Linked DNA regions of Homo sapiens: regions 1, 3 and 4 are each linked to region 2. The links are contacts of gene promoters, found by promoter capture Hi-C in blood cells and fetal thymus (Javierre and others, 2016). All regions are on one chromosome and are shown on one strand. Each heading gives the region's core, a stretch centred on a gene start or on the middle of the fragment in contact. The rest is flanking DNA. Distances are from core to core; before and after follow the strand shown. Region 1 overlaps DHX35 (DEAH-box helicase 35). Region 2 holds the start of PPP1R16B (protein phosphatase 1 regulatory subunit 16B). Region 3 overlaps FAM83D (family with sequence similarity 83 member D). Region 4 overlaps ARHGAP40 (Rho GTPase activating protein 40).

Region 1 (7,542 bases), core at 36-2,535, 230 kb before region 2:
CTTGCAAGTCTCCTGGCTGCAGATAAACAGGGACAAGGGCTGAGGACAGACAGAAGCCACTGGGTTTGGGAGACCCTGTGCCCATCAGACATGCCCTTTGGTGGTTTCGGCAGAGATCCCCAATGTTTCGTTCATTCGTAGAGACATGCTTGTTCACACCTGGCAGCAGACCTCATTGGTTAACACAGCTGTGGCCCCAGCAGGGAAAGCAAAGCCAGCCCAGCAAACCCTCTGTCCACCCCACATGGTGTTTTGGCCTTCAGTGGCTAACTTTCCTCCTTGTTTCCCATAGAGCTGGGCCAGGACTGCATGCCTGCTGGAAGTGGCATGCTGGGTTAGTGAGCGTGCTGAGTGAGCCAACTCCCACTCTGCCCGCTGCAGCACAGAAGGATGCCTGCCCATGCACAAAGTCCTCCAGGATCCCAGCAAGGATGCAAATGCTGTGGGCAGCGGGAAGAAAGGACTAATGAACAGGCCGCAGCCCACTTCAGAGCAACCAAACATTCCACAGGAGCTGGTGCCAGCTCACCCCACCTGGGACCAGGGGCAGCAGCATGGAGGAGAGGACGCCAGCAGTCCCTGCAGCTGTAGCTGTGGGCTCCTCTCACGGGTCCTGGACCTTGGCCCTTTTGGCTTTCAGAGACAGGTGCTGCAACAGAAGAGAAGACACTACAGTTGGGGTTGATTAGACAAAGAAACCAGACTGCAACATAATCCCCATATGAATGACCACATCAAATCTTCCATCTGGTCCACACCTTCCCAGTAAATGCTGAGCTGTTCATGAAACAGCCTGGAAGGAAAAAGCCCAAGTGGCCAATGAAGAAGCCGACCTGAATTCAGCCGCCAGCAACCCGAGGCCCAAGCCACAGCGGCTGAAGCTGGTTATACAGGGCTCTGCGGAAGCTGTCAAGGAAAGGTTTTCTTTTTGAGACACGACTCTCCCTCTGCCCCAGCCTAGAGGACAGCACCGCAGCCAGACAACTGTGCTCAGGAGACTGGGCTCAGTCTGGAAGTGATCTCAAATCTCCAAGAAGTTCCTGACAATAGTCAAGAAAAATTATCCTCTCTTTAGGACCAAGGAAGTCAATTTACCAAGCGTCTCAACACACCAGGTACCCATGCTCAAGGATGGAGATAAAGATATGGCCTCTGCCCACATGGAGGGTACAAGCTTGCTGGGAAAACAGAAAGGACACCTCCTAGTGACACTTTTTTTTTTCCCCAGAAATGTCACTTTCTACCATTATGAATAACACGAAGCACAATATTCTAATCATAGGCATCAGATAATAGGATTGGAAAATGAAGTATTTTTTACATTCTAAAGCAAAGCCAAAAGTGGCAGAAATCCTTAAATATGCCTTTGAGGCAGAGTGTGTAAATACAAGCTTTTAATGAAAGACCTCCCTCCACTCATCAACTGGGATATACCCGACAGCCCATTACTAATCATCAATAACCAAGAGATCCCTAAGCCGTGCCAACTAACACACAGTGGGAGCCTCACATGAGAATGCCCACCCTGACTGCTCCGGAGCTGGTGTGCCCACTACTTAGCACAGCCACATGGCCCCACAACATCAAGCCGCATCGCCCCCAGAGAGAACTGCAGGCCCTGAAAAAATGGAGGGCGTGAACGAAGACACAGCGCACCACCAGGTATGACGTGAGAGACAACAGAGCGAACAGGACCCGGGTATAAATGAGCTACAAGAACTCAGACTTTCCATCTGCTTACACCTGAGGGAGGACTACTACAGGCTCTTGCAAAGGCCTCGTTAAAAGGGTTTTCCCTAATAATGAAGATATCTCTGAGAATAAGGAAAAATAATTTAAAAGCCAGAAGGCAAATCTCTGAATAGGTCACCCCGTTCTTCCCCTGTCTAGCTGTAGGTCTTGCTGAATTTCTCTGAATTCTCTCTCTACACGTCACCTGATATAACCCCTACAGCTAATGTTAGATATCCACGGCCTTAGCTTGGGGATGGGAGATGACGCCATTGTGCCTGTGGGGCCATTTTTGGTGCTTTTTTCTGGGAAGAATGTTGAATATAAACAAAGCTGACTCTGAACCATTTCAGGCCTCCACACAGGGTGAGAGCAACATTCCGAAAAACAGTGGTGATGGAAAGTCTCCAAAGGTGCCAGGAACAGAGCCGTGAATGATCTGTGGGCTGTGGAAGGTTGTGAGGTGCTGCACTGTGTTCAGTAAAGGAACATCTACCATACATGGGCAACCCCTGTAGATCTGGAGGTTCTTTGAGAAATCAATCTGCTTTGGACAAGTTAATAGTAGAAGTGCCCTTGGACTATACAGTTAAGAAACAACACAAGTTTCTCTGTGGTTTGGGGACCATCGTTATACAATGAGGTTGTTGTATTAGGTGATTTCTTTTTTTTTTTTTTTTTTTTTTTTTTGGGGGGACAGTCTTGCTCTGTCGCCTAGGCTGGAGTGCAGTGGTGTGATCTCGGCTCACTGCAGCCTCCACCTCCTAGGTTCAAGTGATTCTCCTGCCTCAGCCTCCCAAGTAGCTGGGATTACAGGCACATGCCACCATGCCCGGCTAATTTTTGTATTTTTAGTAGAGACGGGGTTTCACCATGTTGGCCAGGCTGGTCTCGAACTCCTGTCCTCATGTGTTCCACCCACCTCAGCCTCCCAAAGTGCTGGGATTACAGGCGTGAGCCACCGTGCTCGGCCGCACTAGGTGATTTCTAAAGGTCTGTCCCAGCCTCTCTAAAAATACTCCGATGACAGTGGAGGTGATGAGCTTAAAAATAAAAAAGCCATTTGGAGAGAAGAGACAAATGAAGAAATTTGGGCTTGTTATTTTCTTCAAATTTCTGAAGCTATTTGCTCTTTAACTTTGTGGGTTTGACCTAAAGAAACTGGAATTTTGAGCTGAGAAGGGAAAATGACTCAGCTTCTGGGCTAATTCTGTTTCCAAGAGTCTAAATGAATCCAAGACAATTTCAGGCTTATCCTTCTCTGGCTGTCTGCATCTTCTTACTTTAACAGGCATTTTGACCACTGCACCATTCCTCTTTCAACCTCTAGTTTACCTTTCTGATCCCTTCTCTTGACTCCTGAAGTCTGCTGCTTTCCACCTGAGAGGTTTTGAAGGAAAAGCCTTTCTTTCACCAGGTTTATTCTTATCAACCTAATTCAGCAAAGACAACACACACTGCATTTTTATCAGTCCCTGCAGGCTGATCTGCTTTCCAGCTGAAATATCTGAATTGGGATGTGTGAAGAACTATAAAGGTGTGAAATGGTTTTTGTTTGATTACATAAAAATTAAATATTATAAAATTTTGAGAGGGCAATGTCCCTTGACTTTGCTGGAGCAGGAGAGATGAGGAGATCCTTCCATTTACAGGGTCACAAATTCAAATGTCTCCAAGAGTGCAGCAGGCAAGTAAGCAAGTGACATGGGACTACGGCACCTGGCGATGTCACTAACAGCAGGCAGCCACCCCTAAGCCCCTGTGATGCCACCACGTAGGAACGCAAGCCTAGTGTTGCCAGACTAAACATGTCTTTCAAGAGAAACCAGAAATTCATGTTTAATATGAAATCTCCCAATTTTTCAATGTGGCAATCAATTCAAATATCGCTTTGGAAACATTGTGTAGTCCAATTCTGGCCCTAATGGAGAAAAAGGTTTCAGACTTTCTCTTCTGCTGTAAACAACAGTAAACTTGGGCAAAATATGTAAAGCAAGTATTTTCAGGCCACAAACAGCACAGGGCTGTAACCCTTTTAAAAAAGGAGCTGGGCGTGGTGGCTCACACCTGTAATCCCAACACTTTGGGAGACCAAGGCGGGCGGATCACCAGAGGTCAGGAGTTCAAGACCAGCCTGGCCAATATGGCAAAACCCTGTCTCTACTAAAAATACAAAAATTAGCCGGGCATGGTGGCGCACGCCTGTAATCCCAGCTATTAGAGAGGCTGAGGCAGGAGTATCACTTGAACCTGGGAAGCAGAGGTTGCAGTGAGCTGAGATTGTGCCACTGCATTCCAGCCAGGATGACAGGGCAAGACTCTGTCCCAAAAATAAATAAATAAAAATAAAAAACGAACTGGTGGCATGGTGGCTCACACCTGTAATCCCAGCAATTTGGGAGACCAAGGCAGGAGCACCACTTGAGCCCAGTTATTCGAGACTAGCCTGGGCAACATAGTGAAACCCCATCCCTAAAAAAATTTTTTTTAATTAGCTCAGGCCAGGCCTGCTGGCTCATACCTGTAATCCCAGCACTTTGGGAGGCTGAGGTGGGTGGATCACTTGAGGCCAGGAGTTTGTAACCAGCCTGGCCAACATGGTGAAACCGTTGTCTCTATTAAAAATACAAAAAAAAAAAAAAGAAAAAAGAAAAAGAAAAAAATGAGCCAGACGTGGTGGCACACACCTGTAATCCCAGCTACATGGGGGCTAAGGCAGGAGAATTGCTTGAATCCGGGAAACGGAGCTTGCAGTGAGCCATGATCGTGCCACTGCACTCCAGCCTGGGCGGCAGAGTGAGACTGTCTCAAAAAAAAAAAAAAAAATAGTTTGGAAGAGCAAAAGGAGAAAGAAAGCGAGAAAGCGATACCTTTTTTTTCTTATGAGATTAGGGGGATTTATTTTTAATTGCACTTCACTATGAATTAAACGCTAGAGTGCTTTCCCAGAATGTTTTGGGGATATGGTAATGGCCTTTCCACCCTATGCACCCCTAGGGGGAACACACATAGGGCATTAAATTGGAGAAAAAAAGTACATTTAAAAACATGGAGAGGCTGTGAACAGGTGGCTGGGGCACAGACTCAGTTCATTCCTACCGTTCCTTGTTGATAAAAGTGTGGAGCCAGCTCCAACAGCCAGGCCGATTCAATGGCAGTCACATCTCTCATGTAGTACTTGGAGGTCTGTATAACTTCGTTATAGATGACCCTGAAATGAGAAAGAAACATGAGCTAATTTCCCCCTCTTGTGATGACAGTCAGGAACCACAGGTAGACATGCTGTTTCCTTTAACCTTTAACAGGTTCTACTCTATGTGCCAGACACTGTGCTAAACACATGCATTTATGTTGCTCACCACAGCCTCAAGACCTAAGTGCTGGGTAATGGTGTGTCCATTTTTCAGATGAGACTCTAAATCCTCAATGACTTCTGGAACATCTCAGTTATCCGCGAAGGACCTTTCTGGATCCTTCATCTGCATTTACAGAACTCTGAACTGAGCCTAATGACTTTATTAGAAAATGCAGAAATGGAGGCAAAGACTTGCCTGATTCTGAAAGAGGCTGGGAACTGACTGTAAAGAGACACAAAGGAATTTTCTAAAATGATAACAATATTGTATAATTTATGTGGGTCCAGGTTACATGGGTATACACATTTGTCAAAACTCATCTTGCACTGTAAATAAATTATACCTTTATTTAAGGGAAAAAATGTTTCTAAGGCTCAGGTAATAGACAACCGAAGAGCCAAGAGCATAACATCCAGTCCCCTGATTTTAGGTGTGCATATGAGTAGATATCAGTTTCTGAAACATCCAAAGTGTTAATTCAGGGCTTCCCATGTTATAAACATACCAGCCATACTGTGGTTCCCCACCCCTCAAAAACCAGTAAGTGAATCTCAGCTGATCAAAGGAAAAAGAAGGGCCCCCCCTGCAAAGAGGCCGTGACTGGGGGGCACTTTCTTTGCCACCTGAATGGTATGGCATGGCTTCAGGCTGGCTCTATTTCCCCAACCTTTCTTTGCCCTTCAGAGCTCCTTAGGAATGAAGCAAGAAAAAGAAAAGCCTTTCTCCTTTAAGCAACTCCCAAATTTAACCACCCAAAAGTCAGCAAAAAAAGGATCTAAAATTGAGGTTTTGCATCTCTCTTGATTTAAAAAAAAAAATTTTTTAAAGGCAGGGTCTCGCTCTGTCACCCAGGCTAGAGTGCAGTGGTGCAATCATGGCTCACTGAAGCCTGAATCTCCTGGGCTCAAGCGATCCTCCTGTCTCAGTCTCCTGAGTAGCTAGTACTACAGCCACGTGCCACCATGCCTGGCTCATTTTTTTTTTGAGAGTTGAGGTCTGGCTATGGCACCCAGGCTGGTATTGAACTCCTGACCTCAAGCAATCCTCTGGCCTCAGCCTCTCAAAAGTGCTGAGATGACAGGCGTGGGCACTCTTCAAATTATCCTGCACACGAGTGTGCGTATCCTGACCACATTAGTGTGGTCACTGGGTAACATTTCTAAACCCAGAACCGACCAAGGTGCTTTCAACCTAAGCAACTTCTAGGTCTGCAGTGGCTACAGGATAAATCCGATTCCTTGGTCTAGGGAAACAGAACTCAAACTTTACTGCCCAAAAGAAACATCTGGAGGGCTTGTTAAAATGGAGTCCTAGGCCCTAGTCCAGTTTCTGATTGAATGGGACTTGGCATGGCCTGAGAAGCTGCATTTCGTACAAGTTTCCAGGTGATACTGATGCTGGGCTGGAGACCACATTTTGAAAGCTGCAATTCTAGGGTACAAAGTGTTTGACCACAGACTTTCTTGCCTTCAAATCTACCGCTATCTTCTCTCCCTCTCTTCACACACACCCCACCCTTTTTCCCAGGGCTTCTCCATCTTCCAATTGGAGAAGGACAAGTTGTTGTCGTCTTTAAAATTTCCAATCTGGGCCAGGCACAGTGGCTCACGCCTGTAATCCCAGCACTTTGGGAGGCTGAGGTGGGCAGATCACCTGAGGTCAGGAGTTTGAGACCAGCCTGGCCAACACGGCAAAACCCCGTCTCTACTAAAAATACAAAAATTAGCTGGGCATGGTTGCATGCACCTGTAATCCCAGCTACTCAGGAGGCTGAGGCAGGAGAATCACTTGAACCCCGAAGGTGGAGATTGAAGTGAGCCAAGATCACACCACTGGGCAACAGATTGAGACACTGTCTCAAAAACACAGAGTGAGACACTGTCTCAAAAAAACAAAATCCAATCCATGGTTGATCAGTACTTTTAATCAGTACTTTTTATTGGTAAAATACAATATAAATGAATTCTAGAAAAATGAAATTGTAAACAAGAAAAATATAAGCCCCCAATTTTTATTATTAAATTGGACAAACATAAACTTAACCATTGAAATGTTATAAAGATGTCTAAAGGCCTACTCTAGACTTCTGTGCTTACCTCTTTCTTCCTAGGCAGTGTTACAGAGCAGCACCATTGCATGGGCCACCCATACCAATGATTCCCCACTTCCCAAACGCATGAGGTTCCTTTATGTTCCATGGCTCTGCCCCTGCTACTTCTCTACCTAGAATACCCTCCGGGTCCTTTCTGACTGAACACTCTTGTTTCCAGGTTCAGAATGAATGTTATCTCCTCCATGAAGCCTGCCCTGACTCTCACTGGCACATGATGTGCTGAGCCCAGCACTTCATCCATGCTGCTAGTAAAGCCCTTCCCCTAAGGTAGTTGACTCTGTGTCTGTCCCTATGTCAAAACTGTGGGCTGGGGCCGGGTACAGTGGCTCATGCCTGTAATCC
Region 2 (7,566 bases), core at 2,649-5,148:
CCAGCTACAAGGTGGCAGCTTCAAGATTCAGACCTGGGTCAGCCTGAGCCATGTGGATCTGCTCGTCACTCTCTCTTCTTGCTGTTGCAGCCTTTATCCCACAGTGTCCTCATTATCTGTCTCCAGGCCTGCCTCTCCCCATAGAGGGAGAACTCTGAGAGCTGCCTCATTCATCTTGAAATCCCTTGCTAAGCACAAGGGCTGGGATGGAATAAACGTCTTTTGAATGAATCAATGAATCCTGGAAAATGGCAGTCAGCTGAGAAAGGCTAAGTGGCTGCTCACAGACTCCCCGGGGAAAAGCTGGTGCTAGACTCAAGTTCCCAGGAGTGAGCCCCCACCCCCGCCCCAGGAGACAGGCTGAGAGGCTTTCCCCGTCCTGATGGCTACAGGCAGAAGAGACAGGGTCGCACTCACTCCCCACCCTAGCACTGGAGGAGGTGGGACCTTTGAGAGTCCAACACAAAGGAGGAAATAGTAGTGATGGTGACAATGATCATTTCCTGCATTCCTACCCACACCAGATGCTGTACTGAGCACTTTTTTTTTTCTTTTTCTTTTTGAGATGGAGTCTCGCTCTGTCACCCAGGCTGGAGTGCAGTCATGTGATCTCGGCTCATTGCAACCTCCTGCTCCCGGGTTCAAGCAATTCTCGTGCCTCAGCCTCCCAAGTAGCTAGGACTACAGGCATGCGCCACCATGCTGCACTAATTTTTGTATTTTTAGTAGAGATGGGGTTTCACCATGTTGGCCAGCTGGTCTCGAACTCCTGACGTCTAGTGATCCTCCCGCCTTGGCCTCCCAAACTGCTGGGATTACAGGTGTGAGCCACTATGCTCCACCCTAGTACTGAGCACTTTCTATGTGTTAATGGTCTCATGGAATCCTTACAATCCCACAAAGTAGGCATTACTGTGATACCTATTTTACAAATGAGAAAACCAGACTCAGAGAGATTAAGTCATGTATACAGGGTCACAGAGCTTTTAGGTATAGATCCCTAATTAAAATTAGACCTCTCTGGCTCCCTCACTCTTCATACTCGTAGCTTTCTGTAAGAGGCAGGCTTGTCCGAGCCCTTCTTGAAGCCCAATTGCTAAGATGCACTCAGGACAGTGAAGGTTTTCCTGGTCTCTGCTGGAAGAGTGCCAGTTGGGACCTCCTGGTCAACAAATGTGACAAGAGTCCTGGGTGCAGGAGGGGTGGTGGCTAGGTTGGGAGAGGGGAGGGAAAGGTTGGGGGGATGGGGTCCCAAGAGTCCAAGCACAGCACCTGAATTCAGGTATGTGCCTTCTGCCTTCTCCTAAACCAGGTTGGCTGCAGCCTCTGTTGCTACACTTGGGGCATGGAGCTGGTTTTGAGAGGAGCTGAGCCCCAGTTTTCCCATCTGCAAAATGGGAATCAGTAATGCCTACTTCACGGGGTTGTGAGGATTCTGTGAGGCCATCACACATAGGCCTAGTTTCCAAAGGGCTCAAATGGGCTCTGCAGAAAGGAGAAAGGTTCTGGCTTTAAGGAAAAACCACCTGCCTACATCAGTATCCTCTTAGCCCTGTGGCTCAAGCTCCTGAAATGACTTAACAGCTAGATTAGAATTTAACCTCCACTCCGTCAATTACCAGGGAGAGCAAAGTCTGAGTGGGCACAGGGCCTTGCCTACCGTGTCTTTCTAGGCCATGGATGATCTGGAGAGCACAGATGGCACGGGGCCCTTGACACATGAACCACAGAGCCACTAATGAGTGTCACGGTGGTAGGAGACCAAAAGAGGGGAAAGAAGACATTACAGAGGCTGGGAAGAGCTGGAGCCAGGAAGGTTCCAGGACAGGGGAACACTGTTAGGTAGACCCCAGTAGACAAGTAGGCACAGAGTTGACAGTCCAGGGTGGCCTGGTTGACATCTTGCCCCCAGCATCCTGGGGACTCAGCCAGGAAGATGGGATTTGGGTGACAGGTGGGAGAGAAGGGCATGGGAGATTTGTGTGGGAAGGGCCGTGTGAGCAGGCAGCCGGCTGGAAGGATTTGCTGGCCCCCACCGGCCTCCTGCAAGCTGGCTTTTTATGACAGAGCTGGGGGAGGAAGATGTGGAAACTCCCCCAGCCCCTGCAGAACCACCCACCAGGGCTCCACTTCTGCACCTGTCTAAGAGAGACACGCCCCACTCAAAGCCAATCCCGAGGGCGGCCAGTATTGGCCAAGGAGTGTTCATCCTCCCGCTCTGCTGCACCCAGCCTCTCCCTCATCTCCCCACAGCCTGGCGGCTGTTAGCCCCGTATCTTAGAGGCAGTTGAGACTCCAGAAGCCAAGTACCTTGCCCACGAGTAGACAGCTAGTCGCTGGCTGGGCTAAGAAGCTTTATTACCAGCCTTGGAGGAGGCCTCCTAGATGGACGGTTTTTCTCCGGTGCTTCACCAGCCGCAGGAAATGGCAGGGTACACAGGGAAGTACCCCTGCGGACTGAGGCCGCCATCGGCAGGCCCTTTCCAGGGAGAGCCCTGCGGGAAAGGGCGCCTGTACCTCCGGGCCCCGGGTCCTCCACAGAGGGTGATTCAGAGGCGGCACCTGGTGTCCAGAGCCGCGGAGAGCTGGGGGGCTCTTCTGACAGTGAAAACAGGGGCCCTTTATGTGAAATGCAATCACATGGGCGCGCAGGCAGCTCGGTTTTCGGTTCCTAGAAGCGCTGATGAAGCCACATCCCTCTCCCTCCGCTCCTGAGGTGCCCGGGAGCACCGGGACCCAGGCCTGGCGCGCGGCAGCGGCGCAGCCCTGGGGTCTCAGGAGGGCCAGATTCAAAGCTCTCCCAGGCTCAATTATCCTCCAAGGGCTGGGAGCTGCATCATCAGCATCTCCAGTGAAGCTGGAGGCCGGGCCGGGGTGGGGGAGCGGAGGAAGGGAGTCTACATGGGGGAAGGAGGAGGGCAGCGAGCGCCTGCCTCCCGGCTCTCCACCCGGGGCGGTCTGGGCAGCTCAGCCTGGGCACTCCGGGTGACCTTGGGGAGACCCCTCTGGGCGACCTCTCAGGGGCGGCTGCACGTCTCCGCCCATCCTCGGCGCCCGGGGGCGCTCCTCTGGGCCGGAATCGATGAGCCGGAGTCGCCCAGAGGGGAGCGCTCCTGGCGCGGGGGACCCAGCCGCCGGCGCACGGGGCCCTGGGAGAGGCCGGGCGCGCCCCTCCCGGGGAACTACCACTCGCGGGGTCTCCCCGGGCTGGCTGGTGCTGTCAGCCGGATCCTGAGGCGGGGCGGGTCTGCAGGTGGAGGCGCCTGCCTTGGGGATCTTTCCCGCCCGGGCAGGAGCGCTCTCTGCGCCCTGCCGCTGCCCGCCAGGACCAAGCCCCGCCACGCGAGGGGGCGGCACCACCATGCCCGGCCGGGAGAGTGCGCGGGGGGGGGTTGTTTGGTGTCCGCTGTGGCTCCCGCCGCCCGGCATTGCACCCCCGGCAGACGGCGGCCCCATGAGTCCAGAACAGACCGAGGACCCCACCTCCCCGCCCCAAGATCGGTCTACGACGGCCGCAGCCAACAACCTGCCAATGCGCCCCCTCCCCTGGCCTCGTCAAGGAATTGCGAGGCCGGGGAGAACGCCCCCATTCCAGCCCGACTCCCGGACCTAGCGCTCTCGGTACCCGTCTTTCCAGAGTCCCCACACTCCCATTTATCTCAAGCTATCGTCCCTTGGCCAAAGCGCCCCGGCCCCCAGCTAGGTGATAGCAGGCTGGGACCACCTCCCCGCCCCATCCTCATCCCCCGCCCTGCGAAGCCGCAGAGCGCAAGGAGGGTGGTGGCGCCGCCGGGGAACTCACCCGCTCTCCCGAGCCCTGCCCCGGGCGGCTCCCGACCCCGGCTGTGTCTGTGGGTCCCCGAGCCGCAGCTGCTCCAGCGGCGACAGAGCTGGCTCTGCTCGGCCGCGAGCCTCCGCGCCGCCTCTCGGCTCCTCCCCCAAGGCGGGGCCTGAGCTCCTGGGACTGGGGTGGGCGCGCTCAACCCCATCCGGCTTGGGAGGCAGCGCGGGACAGGGTCCCGGCGCTCTCGGGTGGGGACCCCTCTTCTGAGCTGCAGGAAGTTGAAACCGGTTGGGACGTGGCCAGGCTTCGGAATAGTTTTCCTAACGCTGCCCCCTCCTCCAAAATAGTTTTCCTAACCCCCACCCCGACCATGGAAAGAGGGAAGCCAAGGACGGTATCCCTGCTCCCATTTGACAGACGGGAATCCTGAAGCCCAGAGAGGAGTGGTAACCTGCTCAAGGTCACACAGAATGAATGCCAGGGCCAGGAACTCAGGGTTCCTAGCTTGAAGGCCTGCGCGGCCTGAGTCTGAAGGCTTCCCAGGAGGTCCAGGGGCCGGCCCTGGCCTTGCGCTGGGGACAGATCTGTGGGGCCAGGTCCCCCAGCTGCTGGGGCCGAGACATGGGGGCTGTGGCCTGCGGTGTGGACTCGCATCATTTCCTCTTTCTGGAAAGAAGGGAGGTGAAGCGCTGGAGGAAGGAAGTGGTCGTACCTCTGCTGACGTCTGACGCCCTTTGAGATGTGCAGGATGAAGATAGGGGCTGCTTCCCTGAGATTTAACGCTAAAAATAAAAAGCAAAACATACCCGGTGGCTTCTGTCACCTCATTCAAGCCTCTTTCTGGGGCTGAAGGCCTCTGCACTCTGTGCACCAGCCTTTCTTTACAACACAATGGGTTTAACTATTTAAGTTGCTGAGAGTCACCCCCCACCATCACCACCCCAGGAAGAGAAAAGAAAGTTCATAAACAAAGCAGAGAAAACCTCCCCAAACATTCTCTGGAATCCACATTTGCTGAACCCTGGCCTTAGAACAATAGGTTTCTCTTCTCCACAAAGGCCTTGTTTCCTGAGCTTTCCCGGCCTACAGATGAGAGCCCTAGGCACCCCAGGGCCAGCCAGCTGGGGAAATTCAGAGTTTAAGTTTGGGGAGTTTGGGGATGGTACCCAGTTAATTTGATTCTCAGCTGTCATGTTTGAGGAACTCGCCCGAATCCTTTTTTTTTCACTGGCAATATTCTTTTGAGGCCACCAGCATCACCTGAGTTTAGTGATTTTCTGTTTGCTCAGTCACCTTTCTTGGGGGAGAGAAAATCTGTGGGTTGAACTTGTTCCAGGCCCCCAGGCCCTCTCCAGGAACTCTGTAAGCCCCCTTCATTGGCTCCCTGGCTCCCTCTCAGTTCATTAATAATCCAGTTGTGAATGACACTGTTTCAGGAAAAGCAATTAGACAGTAGAGCATGTGGGGAAGACTTAAAGCCATGTTTAAAATAACCCAAGGGAATCATTGTTCTCCGAAGAATGTTTCCATTGATTGATAATGAAGAGCCATGGGCTGAGAGGATGGGAACCCATCTCTCCAAGGCTTGTGTGGCACTTGGGGCCTGTGTTCCTAAAATAAGGCCTTTGGAGGGAGGGGGCTCCCAACTCCAATGTCATGCTGTTCATTCACCTCTCACACTGTGTTCGGTATCAAAAGTTAAAGTAAATTCAGAATAAGTTGGGGGACTCACAAGTCCTGATTTCAAAACTTACTAGGAAACTTCAGTCATCAAGGCAGGGTGGTACGGGTATAAGGATGGGCATACAGACCAATGGAATAAAACTGAGAGTCCAGACAGAAGCCCTTACACTTACTGCCAATTGATTTTCAACAAGAGTGCCAAGACAATTTAATGGGGAAAGAATAGTGTTTTCAAAAAATGGTGCTGGGACAACTGGATATCCACATGCAAAAGAATGAATTTGGATCCCTGCTTCATACTATATGCAACATATAGATCTAAATGTAAGAGCTAAAACTATAAAACTCTCTGAAGAAAACATAAGCCTAAATCTTCATGACTTTGGATTAAACAGTAGTTGCTTAGATATTAGCACAAGCAACAAAAGAAAAAAAAATAGATAAATTAAAAACTTTTGTGCTTTCAGGGGTATCATCAAGAAAGTGAAAAGTTATGGCTGGGCCTGGTGGCTCACACCTATAATCCCAGCATTTTGGGAGGTGGAGATAGGAGGATTACTTGAGGCCAGGAGCTCAAGACCAGCCAGGGCAACATAGTGAAACTCTGTCTCTACAAATTCTTTTAAAATTAGGCAGACGTAGTGGTTCATGATTGTAGTCCTAGCTATTTAAGAGGATTGCTTTTGCCTAGGAGTTCAAGGCTGCAGTGAGCTATGATGGTGCTACTGTACTCCCGCCTGGGTGACAGAGCAAGACCCTGTCTCTAAAAAAAAAAAAAAAAAAAAATTAAACATAAAAAGAACAAAAAGAGAGTGAAAAAATAACTGTTATAAGCTGAATTGTGTGCCCCCTCACCCCCATTCATATGCTGAACTGTACTGGTTACAGTCTCAGAACCTCAGAATGTAACTGTGGATGGAGATAAGGTCTTTAAAGAGGTGATCATCTTAAACTGAGGCCCTTGGATGGGGCCCTCATCCAATGACTGGTGTCCTCATAAGAAGAGACACTAGAGATGCGCCACACAGAGGAAAGACCAGAGGAAGGCACAGGGAGAAGAAGGTTAATTACAAACCAAGGAGAGAGGACTCAGGGCTGGGGGACCAGACCTGCCAACACCTTGATCTCAGAATTGTAGCCTTCAGAATTGTGAGGAATAAATTTCTGGGGGTTTGTTTTGTTTTGTTTTTTTGACATAGAGTTTCACTCTGCTGCCCAGGGTGGAGTGCAGTGGCACGATCTTGGCTTACTGCAACCTCCACCTCCCAGGTTCAAGCGATTCTCCTGCCTCAGCCTCCTGAGAAGCTGGGATTACAGGTGCATGCCCCCACGCTCGGCTAATTTTTGTATTTTTAGTAGAGTAAGGGTTTCACCATGTTGGCCAGGCTGGTCTCAAACTCCTGACCTCAAGTGATCCACCCACCTCGGCCTCCCAAAGTGCTGGGATTACAGGTGTGAGCCACCGCACCCAGCCAATTTCTGTTGTTTAAGCCACCCAGTCTATAGTATTATGTTATGGCAGCCTTGGCAAAATAATACAATATCCCACAGAACGGGAGGAAATATTTGCAAATCATATTCCTGGTAAGGGACTTATATCTAGAATATATAAGGAACTCTTACAACTCTATAATAAAGAGACAAATAATAAAAAATGGGCAAGGAGCCTGGGCAACATGGCAAAACCCTGACTCTACTAAAAATACAAAAAGTTAACTGGGCATGATGGCATGGGCCTGTAGTCCCAGCTACTGGGGAGGCTGAGGTGGGAGGATTGTTTGAACCTGGGAGGCAGAGGTTGCGGTGAACCAAGATCACACCACTGCACTCCAGCCTGGGCGACAGAGCGAGACCCAGTCTCAAAAAAAAAAAAAAAAAAAAAAAAAAAAAAAAAGGCCAAGGGATCTGGATAGACATTTCTTCAAAGAAGATAGATATACACATGGCCAAGATGCTCAACATCATTAGCAATGAAGGAAATGCAAAGCCACAATGAGATACCACTTCATACCCACTAAGATGGTTATAATAAAAAAGATAGGCAATAACCAGCATTGGTAAGGATATGGAGAAATTGGATCCTTCATACATTGCTGGTG
Region 3 (7,087 bases), core at 513-3,012, 140 kb before region 2:
ACCAGTGGAGCTTGCCACAGAGCCTTGGGAAGACACAGAGGAGGAAGACTTCAAACTGGAAGATCTCGATACAGACATTTTTGAGACTGGTGACCCTTCTGTAGATTGAGTTCCTCGAGGAAAGAGAATGTTCTCATCCATGTCAGTCTGAGTAGTGGTCGATCTGGACCAAATCGTGGTTTGAGAGCTTGCTATCCTGGTGATGACTGCAGTCTGGGTACCAGCACATGCTGTGGTGATGCTGGTTTGTGTTCCCACCTCACTCACACTCAGCCCTGGCATCTCCTCTCCTGGCTCTGTTTGAGTGGCAGCGTCAATGGCCTTTCTGCTCTGGAGCTCGTCCCTGTGGCTGCTGAAGTAGTCTTCCTCACTAACAGTAGAGGACTCACAGTCATGGGGCTTGCGCTCTGCCTTGCCCTCTGCGGGCATCTCTGGGTCCAGGTCCGCCTTCCTGGGAGTACTTGACAGCCTAGCCAGCCGCATCCGCAGCAGGTTGCCCAGGGTGAGCTCCTTGGACTGTGGTTTTCGGTTGGTGAGGTGATCAAACTTGTTGCTGCTCTGGAAGTGAGACAGGAGTTTGGGGCTGATGGGCTTGGACTGGGCATACAGGATTCGGAACTCCAGATCAAAGTGTTCAACCACTTGGCCAGACAGAATTACCAAGTTACTGCTGTTTAATTTGCCATCCGTCCATGTAAAACTTAAAGATTAAAAAGAAACAAACAGCAGCTGGTAAGGATGAGCAATTTTGTTTTACTCACTGTCCATCTGAATAATATAGTACAGGTATCTTACCACATAAGGGTCACAAATTTGGTGATATCATACCTACCATTTGCATGTATTTAACTAGCCTTAACACATATATAACATTTATGTGTGTTACCATAAAAGTAAAAAGGCCAACTGTTTAACAAACACACTAAATGCTCAGCCTCAGAGGGTTTTTTTGTTTGTTTGTTTGTTTTGAGACGGGGTCTTGCTATGTTGCTCAGGCTGGTCTTGAACTCCTCGGCTCAGGCAGTCCTCCCACCTCATCCTTCCAAAGTGCTAGGATTACAGGTGTGAGCCACCTCACCTGGTCCTTGCCTCAGAGTTTTTAAAAACTGGAAAGGGGGCCAGGCGCGGTGGCTCATGACTGTAATCCCAGCACTTTGAGAGGATGAAGTGGGCAGATCCTTTGAGGTCAGGAGTTCAAGACCAACCTGGCCAACATGGTGAAACCCTGTCTCCAGTAAAAACACATAAAAAATTAGCCAGGCGTGGTGGTGCATGACTGTAATCCTAGCTACTCGGGAGGCTGAGGTGGGAGGATTGTTTGAACCCCGGAGGCAGAGGTTGCGGTAAGCTGAGGTCACACCACTGCACATTCCATGACTGGGCGAGATTCCATGACTGGGCGAGACTCCATCTCAAAAAATTAATTAAAAATAAAAAATAGGGCTTCTAAATATTTAGGCCAGCATCCCCATTTTAAAGGTAAGAAAACTATTTAGGCCAGCACCCCCATCTTAAAGGTAAGGAAACCAGATAAAGGGATTATCACAGAGGGGAGCTACTGCTGGACTCCAGATCAGACCCTAGGCCCTATGAATTGCTAATGCCCTGCTCCTTGCTACTGTTTGAGTGGCAACATCAGTGGCCTTCCTGCCCTCAAGCTTGTCCTTGTGGCTGCTGAAGTAGTCTTCCTCACTAACAGTGGAGGACCCACAGTCATGGGGCTGTGCTGCCATTTTCACAAAACACCATGGCTCAAAACATTTTAGAGCTGATTAGTGGCCATGTGCCCTTGCCTGTACGGTGTCCCTTCCCCGCCTCCCTCCTCTGCTAGCAGAACTCACACCCACCTGTACCCCAGAAAGCTTTCATTATCATACTCTCTCCAACCACAATAGGGGCAGGCATGTGGTCCACACTGGCCAGAGTATCCTATTCCCTTGGATGCAGGGATTCATTCAGGGTGGGCATGTGATCCCACCAGAGCCAAGTAAGTTTTCAGAGATTTCTTTTTTCTTTATCAAATGGATTCTGACAGAAGGGATTGATAGTAATTCTGAGTGAAAGAGTTTCACCCTTTGGGAGACAGCTACTAAAGGCCATATAAGAAAGCCAGGATCTGGCTGGGCACGGTGGCTCATGCCTATCATCCCAGCACTTTGGGAGGCCAAGGTGGCCGGATCACAAGGTCAGGAGATTGAGACCATCCCGGCTAACATAGTGAAACCCCATCTCTACTAAAAATACAAAAAAAAGTTAGCTGGGCGTGGTGGCGGGCGCCTGTAGTCCCAGCTACTCGGGAGGCTGAGGCAGGAGAATGACGTAAACGCAGGAGGCGGAACTTGGCAGTGAGCCGAGATCGTCCACTGCATTCCGGCCTGGGCAAGACTCTTTGTCTCAAAAACAAAAAATAAACAAAGCCAGGATCGTTGACTTCAAAGGGAGAGCCTGCCTAAGAACAAAAGTCAACTCGAAAACATCAGAACCAGGATATAGTGTTCTGATCAGCGTGTGGCTCCTACGTCAAGATGAACTGAAAACCAACTGTACCTTTCTATGCTTCCTTCCGGGTTCTTCGAGTCAGTACGTTTGAGAGTTAGCTGACACTTGCCATCACCCCACTAATGGTGGTATTTGTACCAGAAGTAGGTTTCAAACAGAGATCATAGAACACAGTCAACTCTGTCTCCTGTAACCAAGATATGGCTAATGCAAAGTCCCCCTGAAAACTGCCTTCAAAGCCTGAGAAGGAAGATTCTTTTGAAAGCCTTCAATGAGGCTGGGCCGGGCGCAGTGGCTCACACCTGTAACCCCAGCACTTTGGTAGGCCGAGGCCAGCGGATCACCTGAGGTCAGGAGTCTGAGACCATCCTGGCCAACGTGGCGAAACACCATCTCTACTAAAAATACAAAAATTAGCCAGTCATGGTGGCATGCCTGTAGTCCCAGCTACTCGGGAGGCTGAGGCACAGGAATCGCTTGAATCTGAGAGGCAGAAGTTGAAATGAGCTAAGATGGCGCCACTGCACTCCAGCCTGAGCAACAGAGCAAGACTCCATCACGAAAAAAAAAAAAAAGAAAGCCTTCAATGAGATAATGTAAATAAAGCACCTATCCAACACCAAGATTATAAAACCTCCTCAACAAATGGAAGCTATCATCGTCATCAATTTCATTTGGAGAGGGTAGTTTTTATATTTTAGAACAGCAAAAGTCCATTTGTAGCTAAGTTTGGTTAATATAGATAAATCCTACTTAGGTTAAAAACAAATTTTTTTAATAAACTTCTTACAAAAGGAAATTCCAAGAAAAAGAGTTCAATTTGTTTTTTCCCACAGCCTCTTTGGTGAAGAAAGTTCAAATTTTGTTCTGAGCAATGAGGGTACTGTTGAAAAAGAAAGGTGTCAAGATTTTCTTGATCTTACTGCCTCATTTTCCACAAGCCTTCACATTTCTACCTTTACCCAGGGCTGACACGTAATTATCACTCAGGGTTGTGTGTTTCTTCAAAAATGGGGTTTTCTTTTTAAAATTCTACAGACACACCTCATGCAAACCATCAGACAATCTACCGCAGAGGCGGCAGAACATACAACCATTGGAGCCACATATGTACAAATGGCACAAATTCTAGAGATTCATGTAAACCGCTCATTATCCCCACCCTCTCTTCAACCTTCCTGCTCTCTACCTTAAGATGCCATTGCCAATGTGACACTTCAAAGGTGGGTCAGAAACATAATCAGTATTTTCTAGACTAAAGCTCTAAATTACAAGGCTTGAAGCAACGTGGAGGATTTGAGTCTAAAGCTGACAGCTCTGGCTCTGCCTTCAACACTAATGGAGATGCCTGCAACTGCCCCTACCTTCAAGTGAGCAGGGCAAGCTGGGTCCAGATCCCTAAGGAACCAGGATTCCAGACTGTGTGTTGCTGTTAACCCCCAGTTCGTCCCCTGCAGACCTGGGCCAAGGCTTGAAATCTAGGACTTGCTGACTGTGTTGTCTCAATACAAGTTCAACTTCTGCATTTTAATCTATGGACTACAGGACAGGGGAAGTGACCCCCACCCAAACTGCCTCTAACAGGAGGCTTTGATAACCAGCTGCTATACACAGATGCACGCATATCAGAATGCATGGCCATACAGGCTCCCATTGAGAGGAAAAGGCTTTTACCTTTACATGACATGCTTCTTCTGAAGAGTTTAGATTAATAAGCCTTGGACGGGTTAGAGACTTACCTGTAGGAGCCTGTTGCCACGCGGATGCCATCAATCAACGTGAACTTTTCGTGAACCTTCCCAATAATCTTAGTTCCTGACCTTGCATAGTAGATATTTCCTGTGATAGTCCGAACTGTCATTAACTGTTGGCAGGGAGTGGGAGAAATATAAATGAACAATTCAGCAATACTCATCTGCTGAGCAAATGGTTAGGACAAAAAGCCTTAGTTTACAATTCCCAGATATAATTATTGGCATATGCGTGGCTTAGGGTCACCATTTAGTGACAGTATACATGGTACACTAGCCAGACAGTTCTCAAGCCTCAAGTGATGTTACTTCTACATTTGGTCCATCTTCTCATCTGTTCTTTTCTTATATTTACTTTTGAGACCCTTAGTTCATGCGTGTATGTGTTCTAAAAGAACACTCAACCTTTTTGGGATACTAAACAACAGAATCCAAGAAATGATTCTGAAGCAAAATGTGTGGGATAAAATCATCAAAGAAAACATGCTAGTAATAAAGAACATTTTAGCAAAGTCTGAAAGAAGGTAAGCTGATCTTCCTCCAACTTGTTTGTTTAATGGCATCACATTAGAGTAACAGTCCATCCTCACTCACCCTCAACACCATAATGGGTATGGAGAATAGGAACACAGGACAGGCCTTCTCTAGTACAGGCCTGCTGAGGCAGAAACACTCATATCACATGTGGCTTAACAAGCAATGTCACATCTCCTACAAATACATAATTACCAAAAACGTACACTGGTAGTGGTATGCTGGGGCAATATACTGCACATGTATGCATAATTATTCCTGTAAAATGACACACATAAATGTATAAACAATGGCATACAAAATACTACAACAATCTGCATTCTCTGGAGCAGACCAGTGGCTCTATATCGTTAGAAATCTTACACATTTAAATTAAACGTGTAAGATTTTTGTTTGACTCATTGATTCCATAAACATAGAGAGCCCCTACTATGTGCCAAGCCGTGAGACAACAGAGATGTAAGGCATGCTCCTTACCTTCAAGGACTAGAATAAGAGAGAGAAAACTAATTGATTTAGAAACTACAGTAACACATAACAGCATCCAGAGAAATGAAAACCTATATCCACACAAAACCTCTACACATGTTCACAGCAACTTTATTCATAACAGACAAAAACTGGAAATATCCAAATGTCCTTCAGTGGCTGAATGGTATAAGATACCATACAATACTCAGCAATGAAAAGGAACAAACTGTTGATACGTGCACATCTTGGATGGATTTCAAAAGCACTGTGATGAGAGAAAAAAAGCAAATCTTGAAAGGTCACATACTGTATAATTCCATTTACAAAATAGACTGTAAACGACAAAATTATAGAAATAGAGAACAAATTAGTGGTTGCTAGGGGTTAAAGTGAGGGGAGTGATGTGACTATATAAAGGAGCAGGAGGAGGGAGATCTTTGTGGTGATGGAAACTTCTGTCTGGATATGCATGCATGACGATAACATGGCACAAAGCTGTATACAATGTCAATTTCCAGGTTTTGACATTGTACCATAAGTTACATAAGATGTAACATTTGGGGAAACTGGGTGAAGGGTACATGAAACTTTTCTGTACAATCTTTGCAACTTCTGTTAATCTATCAATATTCAAAATAAGCTAAAAATAAAACACAAAACTATGGCAAGACATAATGCTACTTCTGTGGTCTTCTTACCAAATGCGTAATCTGAATTTAACTTTGATAAAACATCAGACAAACCCAAATTCTACAAAAAATTGTTTTTTTTTTTTTTTTTTTTTTTGAGGTGGAGTCTCACTCTGGAGTGCAGTAGCACAATCTCGGCTCACTGCAACCTCCATCTCCCAGGTTCAAGCAATTCTCCTGCCTCAGCCTCCCGAGTAGCTAAGACTACAGGCACCTGCCATCATGCCTGGTTAATTGTTTTGTATTTTTAGTAGAGACGGGGTTTCGCCATATTGGCCAAGCTGGTCTCAAACTCCTGACCTCAGGTGATCTGCCCACCTCAACCTCCCAAAGTGCTGGGATTACAGGCGTGAGCCACTGCACCCAGCTAGCTAGTATTCTTTAAAGGTGTCAAGATCCAGCCGGGCGCAGTGCCAAATGTCTGTCGTTCCAGCTACTTGGGAGGCTGGTTGATGCAAGAGGATCAATTGAGTCCAGGAGTTCAAGACCAGCCTAGGCAACATAGCGAGACCTTATCTCTTAAAAAAAAAAACGGGGGGTGGGGTGGTGGGGGGGGGGTGGGGGCAGGTCAAGACCCTAAAAGACAAAGAAAGATGGAGAAACTGTTCCAGATTAAATCACATGAAGGAGACTTGACAACTAAATGTAAGGTGTGATCCTGGACTGGATTGGATCCTGGACCATAAAAAAGGGCATTAGTGGAACGACCGGGAAATGTATAAGTCTGTAAATTAGATAGTATTGATATCAAGTTTATTTCCTGATTTTGTTATTTGTACTGAGGTTTGTAAGATGTTAACATGTGGAGAACTTGGGTGAAGAGTATTCAGGAATTTCTTATATTATTTTTGTAACTTCTTTATAAATCTTAAATTATTTCAAAATAAAAATTAAAAAAAGAAAAACGACTAGGGAATGTCATAGAGGTACACCTGGACTTGGTGGGAGGAGAGCTTCCTGGAGGAGGTGATGACCCCTGAGCCAAGTCTTAAAGGATCAACATATAATAAGCATAAGAATACCATTATGGGCAGATTAGGTGTGGTTTTCTGTATCTTTCCCTTTGACACACATCTGAATGTTGCATATGCCTCTGTGATCGTGGCCAAAGCACTTGTGAGCGCCTGCACATCAATGTGTGAC
Region 4 (7,223 bases), core at 3,742-6,241, 160 kb after region 2:
CCTGAGAGAGCTGGAGCCAGTGACAGAGTCCAGCACCCAGGGGCTGGGGAGAGGTAGCTGGAGGGCACGTGGTGAGGCTCAGCCAGGGGTGCACCCCGCTGCGAGGCCCCTTTCTTCTGGGCATCAGAATGGAGACTGCGAAGGCAAGGGAATGAGTGGTGACAGATGGGGACAGGAGCCTGCTGTGAGGGGAAGATTTTGAGTCAAGATGGATTATGGACATTGTATGATTACATATGATAATGATGCCTATCATGTAAGAATCACAATTATTATATGATAATTATGGGTATCCTGAGTTCAATTCCATGGCCTCTTTTCTGCCATGTGGCCTAAGGCAAGTCCCTTCTCTTTTCTGAGTCTTAGTGCTCCCATCTGTTCAAGGAGGAGCTGGATCAGATACTTGCTGAAGATGACAGTCTGAGGGTCCCTTGTGCCAATGCCAACAAGGAAGCTCTTGAGGTCTCAGGCTGTTTCCTGTACCCTAGGAATGATGGCTGCACATCAGCCCCCGACCTTCTTCCAGATCCTTGGCCAGGCTCTGCTCCTTGCTGCAGGACCTTTACTGTGCAGTTTTCTGTGCCTGGAAGCCTCACCTCGCTCCCAGATGACACCAGCTTCCTTGGCTTCCAGACACATTGTTCCCTGCATTTCTTATGAAACCTAATACAGTTTGTAACTTGATCTTTGATTCGTGACTATCTGCTTTATATCCAGGTCTTCCTCAGGACTGTGAGCTCTTAAGAGCAGGGCCTCTGTCTGTTCTTTTCATGGCTAGTCTATAATTCTCTTAATACATGGTGGGCCAGGTGCGGTGGCTCACGCCTGTAATCCCAGCGCTTTGAGAGGCTGAGGTGGGCAGATCACTTGAGGTCAGGAGTTTGACACCAGCCTGGCTAACATAGTAAAACCCTGTCTCTACTCAAAATACAAAAAAATTATCCAGGCATGGTGGCAGGTGCATGTAATCCCAGCTACTTGGGAGACTGAGGCAGGAAAATCGCTTGAACCTGGGAGAAGGAGGTTGCAGTGAGCCAAGATCGAGCCACTGCACTCCAGCCTGGGTGACAGAGCTAGACTCCATCTCAAAACAAACAAACAAACAAACAAACAAACCAACAGAAAAACATGGTGCCTGGTGGTAGGCATTCATTAAATACCTATTAAAGTGAATGAGTGAGTGGTGGTCATCATGATTATTACTTGGAGCCAAGAAACTCTCTAAGATTGGAGAACCCATCTGACCACCCCAGAAAGGGAAGGCCAGGTCAGGCCAACAGTATGTGTAACCCCCTGGTGGCCTTCAGCTCTGGGGTGCAGAGCCCTCCCTGCAGGGAAGAGGCTCCTGCCTCCAGGAGGTGCCTCTTACTGTAGAAGGAGGCTGTCCATGTCCTCACTGTCTTCTTGACCCTTGGAACCAGGGCTGAGGTGCTCTGTGAACTGCCTCAGGACGTGGGCCACTTTGGTGCTGGGGGTGAGAGGCACCTTCAAGGGGTCCTTGATAGGCCAGACCACCTGGATCTTTGCCACCTTGGGAGTCTGCAGAGAGAGAGAGAGAAAGATCCATATACATAAGAGTCAGCTTGCCTGGAGTTCCAACGTGGATGCATAAACACGCATACATGGCACTTACGCAAATGCCCACGCTGAAAATCACAAGATACACACACACGCATACCGGACACTTGGGCACAGATCACAGACATACACATTCCAGATGTGTGTTTGTGTTTCTATGCCTATGTTTGTGTTTCTATGCCTGTGTCGGTGCACTTGTACACACAGCAGGAGTACATGCAACGCACCCACAAACACAGACATGTAGGTTTGTATAAAGACCCATCACCCACACATCGTGCACGGTGCAGCCTCAACGCTCATCAATTTCTCTAATCGGGACTTTAATAAGGAACCGTGTTCAGGACCCCTCCTAGGAATACTCAGTATTTTTGGAAGGCTCTTCCCTTCTACTATCCCCCACCCAGCCCCAATCACCTCACACCCCGCAGAGCGACTCCCATTTTCCCAACCCTCGGCCAGGGGCTGCCGAAAAATGGGGCGGCGGTGACGGTTTCTAGGGGAAGTCTCCGAGTCACTCCATTTCCCCTCCCCAACCCGCTTCTAAGCCCTCGTTTCGCAGCCACGCCTCCTCGCTCCCCGTGACGGCGCCGCAACGCCCCCTGGTGGCCTCACTGGGCCGTTGCTGGCAGCCCGGTAGCGGGGACCTGGAGGAAGGGAAGCACCGCGCCCCAGGTGCCCTCCTGTCGCCTCGGCCCTTCTCCACCTGTCTGGGGTCGGGGGCACTCACCGCCTCGAGGCCGTCCCCCGCCTTGTCCCTGTCTGCGTGCATCCTCCGCAGCCAAGTCTTGAGGCCTGCGTCGCAGAGCTGGGGGCGCCTGCTGCTACTGTCGTTCAGTTTTCGCACCTGGGCGACCAGGAAAGAGGCGACCTGGCCAGAAAGGATCAAGTTTTGGCAGGGGGATAGGACTTCTGGGGGCGAGAGGCAGAGCCCTCTCCAGGGTCATCGTGGCCTCTTCCCTGGCCCAGCGTCCCACAGGGCTTGGAAATATGCATTTGTTGGACACGGGACGGAAGCACTGGTTTGGTGGAATGAGGAGGGGGCATTCAGCCCCTAAAGTGGACCTTGGAGTAGGGGACCCTGAGAGTGGAGCCCACCCTGAGGCTTAGTGGATAGTGGTCCCCTCGACAGAAGCTGGAGGGTCCTGCACCTGCTGAGGGATAGCTGCTCACTGGCACACTCAGGCAGGGGTGTCCCCAAAACACACCTGGAGCAGGCTCTGCTCTGAGAACCCCCAGAGAGCCCACACTGGGGGATTCCTACAGAGACCTCCAGATCAACCCATGCCTCTCTGTGGGATCCGAACCCAGCAGAGTCAGAGAACCCAGACTCCATGGACCCTGCTAATAACATGTTTCTGTCTCCCAGGGTCTGACGAAACTGGAGTCGATTCTGAATTCCCCTTTTTGCTGCTATGTGTGTGCTGTCTAAAGGTGACACACACGGGGAAGAGCGAGGGTGATGGGGGTTCTCCCCTTTCACTTTTTCTACATCTATGTTTTCTGAAGCTTTTCTAACAAGAAAACATTCAAGAATTTCTTGAATTTTTAAAGCATCCTCCAATAAAAAGAAGTATTACAATCCAATGTCTTTCAGTAGCAACATTATCTCAAAGGGCTGAGTGCAGAGAAGAAAGGAACTATGGGGGTATAAGGGGTGTATGAGGGAGGAGTAGGGGACTTTCGACAGAGGAGTTGACTTTTGAACTAGGAGGTCTTGAAGAATGAGCAGAGGACACCAGGCTTCTGCCCTTAGAAAAAAAAAAAAGGGAAGGGAATTCCAGGCAGAGTAAACTGCATAAGCAAAAATTCAGAAGTGTGAAGTACTAGATGAGTTTGGAGTGCCAGCTGGCGTTTGCTGTGTTTAGAACACAGACGAGTGCCCAGGCAGGGTAGGAAGAAAAGTGGGAACAGTCAGAGAGGGCTTCACTTGCTGGTTTCTGGAATAGGAAATCTAACCTAATGACCATGGAAGAAGGAAGGGATAGAGGGAAGGACTGTGGGTGGATGGATGGGTAGATAGTGGGATAGATGCATGGTTTGGTAGATGAGTGGATGGATGGATGGGTAGATAGTTGGATAGATGTGTGGTTTAGTTGGATAGATGCATGGTTGAGTGGATGGGTGAATGAGTGGGTGGATGGATGGATTGGTAGATGAGTGGAGAGATGCATGATTGGTGGATGGGTGAGTGGATGATAGATTGGCATATGGGTGGATGGGGGAGTTGGAGGAATTAATGGATTGATGGGTGGGTAAGTAGATGGGTGGGGGGGATAGGTGGGTGGGTGAGTGGGTGGGTGACGGGCAGTTGCATAAATGGATGGGTGGGTGGATGGATGGATGGGTAGGTGGGTGAGTGGGTGGATGGATGGGAGACTGAATGGAAGGATGAATGAACAGATGGAGGGAAGAGGCTACGCATCGCTAGGTGAGAAAGCAGCCTGGTCAGCAGTGGTAGATGGTGCTGCCTTGTGTTCACAGGAGTCTCAAGAGCTGGAGGGGTCTCAGTGCTAGGGGCACCATGCATGCTGACACCGCAGAGGGGCCTCTCTCCTGCTCTGGCTCCTCCCCTTGCTGTCACTTGTTACTCAGGGCAAAGCTCACGGTGGGGGCAGGAGGGCAGGGGTATCCCTGTTATCTGGTTCTGGGCTCTGTCTTAGGCAGGCCCTGTGATCCTGGGCCTCAGGGATGGGGCTTTCTCAGCAGCATAAAAGCTTTGATGTGAAGGAATTATTTGCAGGAGTTGGGGGAACTCCTGCAATCTGGGGTAGACCAGATGGCAGCAGACTGACTGAGAGGCATGGCAGTGGAGACAGAAAGTGAAGACACTTCTTCTTGGTTACTAAGGCAGGGGGAGGAAGAAAACACAGGCCTGTGCAGAGGCCAACAAAGGTCCTGGAAGGGACACACTAGGGAACTGAAAGGACAATGCCCAGGCTCCTGGAGAGCAGGGGCGGCACGGCAGCTGCACCCAGAGGGATACCCAGCGCCCAGCAGCACTCACCGTCCACAGCAGATCCTGGTAGTGCACCATTATCTGCACCACCTCGGCTGCCCCTTCTGCCAGCTGCTTCTCCTTGCCTTTGGGGAGCTTGGGGGGCCGCCCTTGGTGCAGAAAGAGGTTAGGGGCCATCACGGTGGAAACATTCCTCAGAGTCATCTTGTTGTGCTGTTCCCGGGCCACCACCTTCCTGAGGAATTCCAGCAGTGCCTAGGGAAGGGTGCAGAGCCTCCCTCAAATCTCAGCCCATCCCTGGCGCCTCCCCACCATCCCCAGGGCATTCTGATGAATGATAAGGGGGTGCTAGGAAGGAGCCAGGAGCTGGGAGGGCAGCAAGAGGGGCTCCCGTTCCAGCTGTGTCACCGGCCCACTCCATGACCTCTCTGTGTCTCCGTTTCCTGCTCTGCAGTGTGTCCAAGACTCTTTCCCTCCCCTGCTCCCTCAGAGACTAATGAGACAACTGGGTCAGACTTCAACTTCCAGGTAGAAAAGGGCCACAGGTCTGGAACATGGGTCATTTCCTGGTGAGGCCCAGGATAGCTCCTTCTTTCTGGAGTCTGGGTCTACCCAAAATGCAAAGGAAGGAATAGAGAAGCAGAGATGCTGGGAGAAGCAGAGACACTGAGAAGAGCAGCAGAAAGTGATGAGAGCTACCACTTACTATGTATTCTTTGTGTTCCTGGGCCTTTAATTGGTACATCTCATTTAATCCTCACAGAAACTTTATAAGGTAGGTTTTTTTTGTTTGTTTTTTGTTTTTTTTTTTTTGAGTCAGAGTCTCACTCTGTCTCCCAGGCTGGAATGCAGTGGTGTGATCTTGGCTCAGCTCACTGCAACCTCTGCCTCCCAGGTTCAAGTGACCCTCCCACCTCAGCCTCCCAAGTAGCTGGGATTACAAGTGTGCACCATCACACCCAGCTAATTTTTTTATTTGTAGTACAGACGGGGTTTCACCATATTGGCCAGGCTGATCTCGAACTCCTGACTTCAAGTGATCCTCCCGTCTTGGCCTCCCAAAGTGCAGGGATTACAGGAATGAGCCACTGTGCCTGGCCAAGGTAGCTCTTATTATTGCATGTGTTTTACAGATAAGGAAACAAGCTTGGAGAATGTGCCAAGAGTCATATAGCCAGTAAGGACAAAGGGACGGAGTGAAGAAGGGAGGGAGGGATGGATGGATGGAAGGATGGATGGATGGATGAATGGAGAAAGAAAAGATTAATAGATGGACGAATGAGAATAAATGGGTGGTGGAAGGAAGAATAAATGGAAGGGAGGTGGGAGGGAAGGAGGGAGGGAGGGAGGAAGAAAGGAAGGGAGAGAGGGAGGGAGAGAGGATAGGAAAAGAGGACACATATTGAGTACCCTGCAAAGCATCATCTTCTACCCCATGATTCCTCATGAGTTAGCTTTTATGATTTCCAAAACAATTAGACAAGATGCTATTAATGCTATTATCATCCTCAGTTTACTGAAAAGGAAGCAGAAACTCAAACAGGAAGACCCGGGGCCTCCTCAGGCTGATCCTGGAGGCACATCTTGAGTCTGACTGAAGGACAGTCAAGACGGTACAGGGAGCTGGGCCAAGGCCCTGCATCCATTCCCATACGACAAGGAGAATTTGCTAAGGGTCTGTTTCCCAAACTGGTTCTGCATGGAACACCAGTGCCATGCAATGCTTTCCACAACAAAAGAGGTCTGTGATCAACTGAGTTTGGAGAGTGCTGCATACTCTAATCCCACTTGGAGATTCTCTAAAGCCTCAATATACCAAAGGCTTTGAGAAGTCCTGGGGAGAAAAGTATTCTTAACCTTGTTTCATGAACTCTGTGTTTACCCATCCATGCTTGGCCACAAGGTGCTAACACCTGTTAGCACCACGTGGAACTGACGCTCTGCAGTGCCCACTCCGGGACTATCCCCTTTCAGGACTCATCTACTTTCTTTAAGAAAAAGTCTCAAGAGAGGTTTGTGTGGGTCATCACTGAACCCTAGCACCTGGCAGAGTTGTTGAATGAATGAATGAATGAATGAGCACATTTGAAGCCATGGCTGTGGCTGTGGGCTGAGATGGCAGAGTGGTGGTGGTGCATGGTAACTCTTACCTTTAAGGCATTTCTGTTGGGTTCTGGGAGGATGAGGATGAGCAGGTGAAGAACCTGCAGGCGCTGCTTCAGGTTGGGGATGTCTGCGGGAAGGGAGGGACCTCAGTCTCCATGGGAGGCTCAGGGACTCCCTCCCTCAGTCTGGTCTCTTCTTGGGGAAATTCCAGAGCTGGAAAGCCAGGGGACAGCCAGGAATCCCTTTTTTCATAAGGTGTGGGACTATTTCCTTGTCTAATGTTGGCTCAGACAGAGCCCTGACCAGTGCTCGTGGGAGGTTCACTCGCTATACTTTGTGTAACAAAATAAACACACGCATGCATGTGCAGGCAAGCACATGCCGCACAGACCTAGATGCAGTCCAGGCTGCAGCCCAGGGTCAGAAATGCAATGAACCAGCAAATCACCCTTAGGAAGGGAGACAGAGAGCTCAATGGGCCCAGATAGAAGGTTTTCATGAAACCCTCTGTGTTGTGAGGGTTGAAAAGGAAAAGCTGTCTCACACCTGGTGTCAGGATCTCCGGGGAGAGGAGGTAGGT

The links. Contacts are between HindIII fragments. The CHiCAGO score rates a contact against its expected background, and 5 or more counts as called.
Region 1: a contact is called between a fragment that was not itself captured here and the fragment with the promoter of PPP1R16B in region 2, in 1 of 17 cell types (total CD4 T cells). The highest score is 5.1, in total CD4 T cells.
Region 3: a contact is called between a fragment that was not itself captured here and the fragment with the promoter of PPP1R16B in region 2, in 3 of 17 cell types (total CD4 T cells, activated CD4 T cells and total CD8 T cells). The highest score is 6.7, in total CD4 T cells.
Region 4: a contact is called between a fragment that was not itself captured here and the fragment with the promoter of PPP1R16B in region 2, in 3 of 17 cell types (total CD8 T cells, total CD4 T cells and naive CD4 T cells). The highest score is 6.6, in total CD8 T cells.

The regions. Positions count from the first base shown.
Region 1 is chr20:39,031,606-39,039,147 of GRCh38, reverse strand. It overlaps DHX35 (DEAH-box helicase 35), which reads right to left. Exons shown (of 22, transcript NM_021931.4): 21 at 4,831-4,942; 22 at 1-649. The coding sequence ends at 605. Among named protein-coding and RNA genes, the nearest start is that of DHX35, 73 kb to the right of the region's middle. The HindIII fragment of the contact is 217 bases long and covers 1,177-1,393 here.
Region 2 is chr20:38,802,029-38,809,594 of GRCh38, reverse strand. It overlaps PPP1R16B (protein phosphatase 1 regulatory subunit 16B), which reads right to left and starts at 3,898. Exons shown (of 11, transcript NM_015568.4): 1 at 3,803-3,898. RefSeq lists enhancers at 703-752, 2,442-3,280, 4,309-4,578, 3,861-4,722, 4,723-5,585 and 1 more and silencers at 2,849-3,198, 3,259-3,478, 3,669-4,048. The HindIII fragment of the contact is 16,329 bases long and covers 2,356-7,566 here.
Region 3 is chr20:38,945,152-38,952,238 of GRCh38, reverse strand. FAM83D (family with sequence similarity 83 member D) reads right to left here. Exons shown (of 4, transcript NM_030919.3): 3 at 4,239-4,363; 4 at 1-700. Among named protein-coding and RNA genes, the nearest start is that of DHX35, 14 kb to the left of the region's middle. The HindIII fragment of the contact is 204 bases long and covers 1,661-1,864 here.
Region 4 is chr20:38,641,273-38,648,495 of GRCh38, reverse strand. ARHGAP40 (Rho GTPase activating protein 40) reads right to left here. Exons shown (of 15, transcript NM_001164431.3): 10 at 6,688-6,770; 11 at 4,586-4,792; 12 at 2,309-2,449; 13 at 1,370-1,539. Among named protein-coding and RNA genes, the nearest start is that of ARHGAP40, 43 kb to the right of the region's middle. RefSeq lists a silencer at 2,160-2,279. The HindIII fragment of the contact is 1,388 bases long and covers 4,298-5,685 here.